2 separate regions of the Homo sapiens genome follow, and region 2 is linked to region 1. The links are contacts of gene promoters, found by promoter capture Hi-C in human tissues and cell types (Jung and others, 2019). All regions are on one chromosome and are shown on one strand. Each heading gives the region's core, a stretch centred on a gene start or on the middle of the fragment in contact. The rest is flanking DNA. Distances are from core to core; before and after follow the strand shown. Region 1 holds the start of ADAMTSL3 (ADAMTS like 3). Region 2 overlaps ADAMTSL3 (ADAMTS like 3).

Region 1 (4,296 bases), core at 205-2,704:
GGTGCAGGCTAACTGGGCTCCCTTTAGAAGGTCCACAACAAAGTCAGGCGAGGGCTGGACCTGTCTCCAGTGGGCATCTCATACCTCCAGCTCTTCAGAAGCTGAGATATCCCTGCCCAAGCCTATCTGTCAGCAGCAGGGTGTCGCTATTGGCATTTGACTCAGGAAGCCAGCACAGAGCCAAGGTTTAGGCTAGCTTCTGCTGCTCGCGGCAAAAATGAGTCTAAGACAACAAAGCCGCCCAGAGAGGGAAAGGACCTGCCTAAGGTCACACAGCAAGATAGTGACATTTTAGGGCTGAAACGCAGATCTTCTGATAGTTCAAGGCTTTCCTCGCTAGATGACACCGTGCGCCCTCGAGGTCCGGGACCCACACCCAGAGAGACGCCTGAGAGCTAAGTTCAGGGAGGTTTGGAGGACACAGCCCCTGAGCCAGCCTAACACAATCTCCTAAAAGTAGGTGAGGGCCAGCCAGCAGAGGTCAGCTGAAACCAGGAGGGAAGCGGGGACTTTTTCCCTTACTTTTCCTGTCAATTTACAGGGAAATCAGTATGAGTCGAGACTGGAAAAGCCGAGGTCACACTCGACTCCCGCTTCGCCTCGCGGGCGCCTTGGCGGAGCTGGTGTCCGGGGGCGGGTCGGTGGCTTCTCTCCATCTGGAGAAGGCATTAAGGGCCTGGTCTAATGTGATCCGCAAATGTGCTGCTGTTTCCGACCTGAGGCGGCGACTCCTGGCTGAAGGGAGGCGGCCAGTGCGGGGCCCTGGGACTCTGCGCCACCCTCGCCTGCTCGCACCAGCCTTCCGAGTGCACACTCCTCCGACTACCCGCTGCCTCGAAGTCGCTCCTCCAGTGCCTCCGCCGCGTCCCGGTCACCCCCACGCCCACTTTCCACGATCGCGCGTCGCCTCAACCCCCGGCGTTCTGGGCGCTCGCTACCCAGTGGTCAACCGGCCGGACCTTCGGACCCGCGAGGTTTCTGCTTAGTAACTCCCAATCCTGAAAAACTCCAACCCTGTGGAGTTCCCCCATAATCAAGAACGCCCCTCAGCCCGCGAACTGCCGCCGAAAGACTCTCCCTGAACCTTCCGGGACGGCACGAAGCGCGCCCGACCCGAGGTGCCCAGCAGTGAGGAGCACCCCAGTCCTGAGGCCCCCTGGGGCCCGCGTGGCACGCCCCGACTCTGCTTGGAGACCCCCAACTTGCTTAGAGAGGCCACTGCTCCAAGTCTTACTCCCTCTGGGGAGCGCCTTCCCCCGACCCCTGAGGGGCCGCCCTGCGCCGAGCTCGGTGCACCCACCTTGCGCCGCAGAAGTATCTGGGACGTGCAGCCCCGGGGCCGCGCGGGCTCGGCGCGCGCTGGGGAGAAGTTGGCAGAAGCCGCCCGTCAACACCTCGTGCGGAATCCGGCACCAGGACCTTCCCCGACGCCGGCCTCCAGCCCGCGGCGCCGCAGTCGCCGCCGCCGCCGCGAAGTTAAATGGGGCTGGGACGGGGGCTGCCCCGCCTCTCCCGCCCCCTCCGGGCGCGCAGAGCGCTGCGCTGGCCCCGGCCCAGAGGCGGAGGGCGCGCGCCGCCACCTGCACCGCCCGGCAAGTGCACGGCGCGCCCAGGCGCCCGTCAGCCTGCGCGCCGGCACCGCGCCCTCGGCTTGAGCTGGAGGCGCCGGGGGCGCGAAGAGACGCCGTGTGGGGCCAGGCCCGGGCCGCTCGGAGCGCGCGGGGCCGCGGCGACGGCGGGACTCGGCTGGAACGCTCCTCCGCCCGCTTCCTGGAAGCCACTCCTCGCCCTGGGCCGGCCGCCAGGCGTTGTGCCAAGAGCCGGGATTGCCGACGCCGCCACCGCCGCCGCCGGCAGGCGCACTGGGGAAAGGCGGCCGCTGCGCCGCAAGCCAGCCTGGCCGCCCCGCCTCAGCCGGAGCCGGAGCAGGGATGCCGTCGCTCCCCCCGAGCCCACCCCCGGCCCCACCTCCCATAGCCTCCACCCACCCCGCCCAGACCCGGGCGCCAGCTCTGCAAAGTCAGGCCCAGCAGCCACACAGAGGTTTGCCCGGAACCGCTGGCTCGTGCCTAAGAGCCATAGGCACTCCTGGCCAGGCAGGACCATAGTGGAGACCAATGGCCCTCTCCTGGCCTGCGCCTCCTCCGCGCAGCATAGACGCCACACAAGGGACTGTGGAGCGCTCACTGCCCAGAGGCCTGGGACCTTTGGCAGCCAGGGACCACGAGGATCTTGCAGGAGCGCCTCTTAACTGGGTACCTGGCGCCTCCTTGTCTGAGCCGGGCTTGGGGAACTGAGAGCTCCACAGGTGCCAGAATCATGCCGTGTCCAGGCCTGGGATTTGGGGTTGGGGGGAAGAGTGTCGCGGACAAGAGACTGGGGTGAGTTGCCTGTGTACTTCTGGAGGTGAGGAGAAGTAAAAGGAAATGTTTGTCCCTGTCCTTGTCCTAGTCCCAGCAGGATAAGCCAAGGGCCAGGAGATTGATCTTAAAGGCTGCATTATGCCCCCACCTAAGTCCTACCACAGTCGCCATTTCCTTGGGTGTCTGTCGAGTACCAAGCTCTTTGTGTCTATCTGATCTTCACAGCAGCAGTAGTTCGAGCATTATCCCATTTCACCTAGGATAAATCTGAGGCTGGGAGGATAACTTGCCCACCATGAGTGGAGAAGCCAGGACTGGAACCCCTATCTGCCTCTCTCTAGAGCCTGGACTGTTCACCCCTAAAGTTGTTCTCCTGCCTTCTCTGTGGTTGCTGCGTTCCGGTTACTGCTAGAGCTTTGCCAAGAGCAATTGGCCCTGCCTGCTTTCCTCACTCATTCTTCCCTTACTTACTCTGGTGACTTCCTCTGACCAAGAAGAGGATCTTCAAGGCTGTCTCTCCACTCTATGTAAAATGATTGGACTTGTGGCAAGTGAGCAGAGGACAGGTCAGTGTGGAGACAGGAGAGGTAAGAGTAGCCAGTGAAGGGTAGGGAGGGCTGGGCTAAACTAGAACTAACTCATCTATGGACAATCGATCCTTTTTATTTACTGTAGTTGTGGTCTATAAAGTCACAGAACAACGAATTTGTGAATATGGAGCCATTGTTCCTAGGGGAAATATAGAGTTGGGTTCCTGCAAGCTCACAATATTTTTGTCAATCAATCAACACATTGCCTTATTTTATGCATGTTTCTGTTTAAAGACGCCTTACTTAACATCTATTGTTGATTCCTGAACACTGAGCTCACAGCCTACAGTGCTGTAACTCATGCCTGAATGAAGCTTATCTAACTTACGTATTTTCTCTGCAACACACATCCCAGCCTTCTTCCACTTAGGAACGCTAGACTTCACTTCAGCACTGTGCCTGGGGGGTGCTTTAAGCAGCAAAATCATCAAAAAAAAGACCAAAAAAATGTGAAAACATGGCAATGAAGAGAACTTTTGGGCCACTCATTTACAGTGTGAAAGCTGAAACAAGAAGACAGAGGGTTGACTGGTTGGACCTTAGCTTCCAACATGTGTCTCAAGAGACTCAAAACGTTCAGCACTGGTTCAATGACTTTGAAAGTGCTGCAGCTATTGATTATGAGGTGTTAAAATAAAAACTTTAGACAAATTTAACAGAGGTTAATTGAGCAAAGAACAATTTGAAAATAGGGCAGCCCCCCTCAGCCCCAAAACAAAATAGATTCAGAGCAACTCTGGGGCTTCCACATAGTCAGATAATATTTATGGATAGAAAACGGAATATGATGAACAGAAAACGGAAATGAGGTACAGAAACAGCTGGATTGGTTACAGCTCGGCATTTGCCTTATTTAAACATGGTTTAAACAGTTGACCGCCTGTGATTGGCCAAAACTCTGTGACTGCTTCAAGAGTAGGTTACAGTCTGTTTACACATCATCAGGTTACAGTTTACTATGTACAGAGAGACCTTTAGGCCGAACTTAAAATATGTAAGAAGGCAACTTTAGGCTAAACTTAATTTAACGGAGGTGACAAATAAATTTTACCCAGTAGCTGAATTCACAATAAGGAATCTGCAAATAATGAGAATTGATTTTTCGTGCTTCTCATATCAGAGTATCAGTAAAGGAATAGCCACATTAACATTCAAAACACTTAGGATGTGGCAGGCACTGTTCCAGATACTTTGCTTATACCGAGTCATCCCATCATCACAACAGCCTATGGGGTAGATATTATTTTTATTCCCATTTTGCAAATGAGGAAACTGAAGTGGAAAGGTTTAAATACCTCATGTTCTTAGCAACTAGACGATACCACTCCTCATCGTTCATATTC
Region 2 (4,087 bases), core at 335-2,834, 200 kb before region 1:
AATCCAGAATATGGGACATGCTAAAATACAACTGGAATGAACTCTTTACAAAGTCGATACCATGAAAAAATAAGTGCACTAAAAAAAAAGAAACTAAAGAGATAGAAAAACTAAATGCAATGAGTGAGCCTTGACCAGTTCAAGGGGAAAAACAACTATAAAAGGAGAAATTTTAACATAGATTGGATATTAGATAATATTTAGAAATTATAATTTTTTAGGTGTACTAGTGAGATGATGTTATGAAGAAGATCCTTATTTTTAGAAGAGTCATGCTAAAGTATTAATACTTAGAAGTAAGTGTTGTGATGTCTGTAAATTAACAAGGGTCAGCTAGCTAGTTGGATGGAGGAATTAGATAGATAGATAGATAGATAGATAGATAGATAGATAGATAGATAGATAGAGATAGAGTGATAGGGATAATGAACCAATGTAGCAAAATATAAGTAATTAGTGAATCTAGTTGAAAAAATGTACAGTAGTGAATTGTGTTATTTTATCAACTTTTATGTATGCTTGAAAATTTTACACAGTACAATTTTGGAGATAAAACTACATTCCAATGTCATTAACATCTATTTGATACCAAATTCCTAAGTAAAATATTTGAAAAGAAAATTTAATCATAAATTTGAATTATGCACTATATACAAATGAAGTTTACCCAACAAATGCTAGTGTTGCTCAAATTTAGGAAACCTACTAATGTAATTTACTATATTAATAGACAAAGTAGAAAAGTTTGATTACCTCAAATAAGTTTCCAGCATTTAGTAAAATTCAGTCATTATTCCTGATAAAAATTCTGTATATAAAATAAAGTAAATGTTTGTAACACCATTTATAAATGCAAGTCATGATTAATATGCTTAATGCTTAAACATTAGAAACACTGCTGTTTAATTGGGGAAATGATGGGATACCAGTCAGCACCGTATGACTGAAGAGTTTTTAAAAGATTAGCCAAGGTAATTAGGCAAGAAAAAAATAGTCTAAACATTGGAAATCAAGAAGAAATTAATATTAAAAAATTATTAGATTTTAGAAATACCAAGAATAATCATTTAGAAAAATAATGGAAGAAAATGCCCCATTTGCAATGGCTAGAGAAAAGATAGAATATGTTGGAATGAACTTTTAAAAAATGGGCACAACCGGCTGCGCATGGTGGCTCATGCCTGTAATCCTAGCACTTTGGGAAGCTAAGGCGGGAGGATCACCTGAGGTCAGGAGTTCAAGACCAGCCTGGCCAACATGGCGAAACCCCATTTCTACTAAAAAACACAAAATTTAGCTGGGCGTGGTGGGTGCCTGTAATCCCAGCTACTCAGGAGGCTGAGGCTGGAGAATCACTTGAACCCAGGAGGCAGAGGTTGCAGTGAGCCAAGATCACGCCACTGCATTCCAGCCTGGGCGACAGAGTGAGACTCCATTTCCAGCCCCCCAAAAATGGACACAACCTACAAAAACAACATTTAAATCTCTCTCTCTCAAGATATAAAAAAATGCCTTGAGAAAATCGAAGGAAAATATTAATCATTTGAAATAAAAATTAAGCAAAATTAAATGTCAAAGAAGGAAAAATTATAATTATAGGCAAAGACTGTTTTCTTAATATCCAGAGTGTTTACAAATCAGTAAGAAAAAAACACAAATTAGCAGGAGAATTGATCAGACACTTGAAAAACTAGTTCACAGAAAAATCAAAATGTCAAGAAGATTATGAAGAGAGAAGAGAAATTACAGTATCTTTGAGAACTAAAAGCACATAAAGACATGCTTGCACAAAAGTACAAAGTTGTTGTAACACTGAGAGAAAATCTAAATGCTCATTGATATGAGTCTGGTTAAATAAATTATGTAATGTCCTTTTATATCACCAGTTAAAAAACAAGCCAACTGGGTGCAGTGGCTCACGCCTGTAATCCCAGCACTTTAAGAGGCTGAGGCGGGTGGATCACTTGAGGTCAGGAGTTCAAGACCAGCCTGGCCAACATGGTGAAACCCTGTCTCTACTAAAAAATACAAAAATTATCCAGGCATGGTGGCTGGCACCTACAATCCCAGCTACTCAGGAGGTTGAGGCATGAGAATTGCTTGAACCCAGGAGGCGGGGGTCATAGTGAGCCGAGACCATACCACTGAACACCAGCCTGGGCGACAGAGCAAGACTCCATCTCAAAAACAAAAAAAACAAGCCAAATTATGAGAACTGATAGGCAAAAAAACCTCAGTGAATAAAAAGAAATTGTAAAAAAGTTTATACCTAATGATCAATTCTGTATACTTCTCAAAAGCATACATGTTTGTATGGAAAGGTGCACACATACACATCCATAGGAAATATCTTAATAGAAGCAACCATTCATCCTGTTTAGACCTCTAAAAAGTGGAACTGGTTAGGAGTTTGTGGATGGTAGAGGGTGACATTTACTTTCCATTTTATATCCTTCTGTGCCATTTGAAGTTTTTGTAAGTTTAAAAAACTTTTTAAGTTTTATAAAAAGTATGTATTAATTTTACAATATAAATTATCAATATATGTTATGCATCCTCAACCACTTCACCTCATCCCCGGAAGGATACACACTAATATGATAACACATGTAATCTCTTGGCAGTGTGATTGAATACATGACATGTTTGTCAATTTCCTTGCCTGGATATTCTGGATTTTTTTTACAACACATATACAGCATATTATATATGTAATAAAAATTGTTTTGAAAATACATATAAATTAGAAAGCTTTACTGAACTGAAGAAAACCTATTTGGGCATATTGGTTGGGCTCTCTTGCAAAATCTTTGTGAATGTAGGCTGTGGTATCTTGGGGAAGCATTTGTCTAGGGGTGTGTGTGCATATATGTGTATATTCCAACCATTGTCCCATTGATAATTACACACTTTAATGAAACCCTGCAAATCAAATCCCTTGCAGTTGATTTTAGCCAAAAAGCCTCAAACTTGAGGAAAATGTTCTTCTGGGTGGAGCTGCCTACTATATAACTCTTGGAGAGAAAGCACACTGCCGAGCACCCAGGCAAAGCTAAGAACAAGGAGCAGCCTATAAGGATCATCTCCTAAACTGGAATTCCCTTTCATTTCTGTAACCCTCCACTAAAGTTTCATACATTTGTAGAAGTCTCTGTGATACGCTGATAAGGCAGTACTTCCCAAACATTTTACCTAAATATGAATCATCTAGAAAACTTGTTAAAACACAGACACCTGCTCCACCCATAGAAATTCAGATCCAGCAGTTTAGGGTGGAGCCCAAGAATGTGCCCGACCAGCAGCAGCCTCCCAGGTGATGCTGATACTGCTAGACTGTGAGCCACATTTTGAGCAGCACGGGCGCAGGATATAGAGAGGGAGAACTCAAGTCATAAAGGGCAGAAAGGGAGGACTGGTCCACAGTCACAAACTTTTCAGCATTTCTTCACTGTCCTGCAAGAGACGGCCCAGTTCTAGGTCTGACCAGAAATGAAGTGAGAATCCTGTGAGGCAGAGGATTTTAAGGAGGCAGGAGCCAGGAGTACCAAGTGCTCTGCAGATGAGGGCTTAAAAGTGCCTTTTGGATGAGCAGTAAAGAGACTGTTAATGTGCTTTGCCAAAGCAGTTTCAATCAAGTAGCTGGCACAGGAAGCTGTGATCTGAGGAATACATTGATGATGAAAAATTAGAGACAGCAAATGTAAACAGTTTTTTCAAGACTTGGCGATAAAGAGTAGGTGAAAAATTAGGGTCGTAGCTGGAGACGTGATTAAAAGAGTGTTCTATATATATATATAATTTAAAAATATTTTTATATATAAATATTATACACCCATATACATACACATATATAAACATACACATATATATACACATATGTATATACACACATATGTATATACATGTATATACATAGACATTTTTAAAATTATACTTTTATTTAAGATGGGAAGAGACCCGCTGGTCATATTAACCCTGATAGGAAAGAGACAGTGAAAGAAGATAAAGGAAAGAGAGGGGATGATGGGTGGAGTGAGTTCTCTGAGGACACAGAGGAGCTGGAATGCAGAACACAGATGGAGGGATT

Evidence for each region. Contacts are between HindIII fragments. The study calls those that stand out against the background at their distance.
Region 2: a fragment that was not itself captured here is called in contact with the fragment with the promoter of ADAMTSL3 in region 1 in 1 of the 25 tissues and cell types used here (IMR-90 fibroblasts).

What each region holds. Positions count from the first base shown.
Region 1 is chr15:83,651,281-83,655,576 of GRCh38, reverse strand. ADAMTSL3 (ADAMTS like 3) reads right to left here and starts at 1,454. Exons shown (of 30, transcript NM_207517.3): 1 at 1,301-1,454. RefSeq lists an enhancer at 2,816-2,985. The HindIII fragment of the contact is 6,298 bases long and covers 577-4,296 here.
Region 2 is chr15:83,850,227-83,854,313 of GRCh38, reverse strand. The region is part of intron 7 of ADAMTSL3 (ADAMTS like 3); the gene reads right to left. Among named protein-coding and RNA genes, the nearest start is that of ADAMTSL3, 200 kb to the right of the region's middle. The HindIII fragment of the contact is 8,624 bases long and covers 1-4,087 here.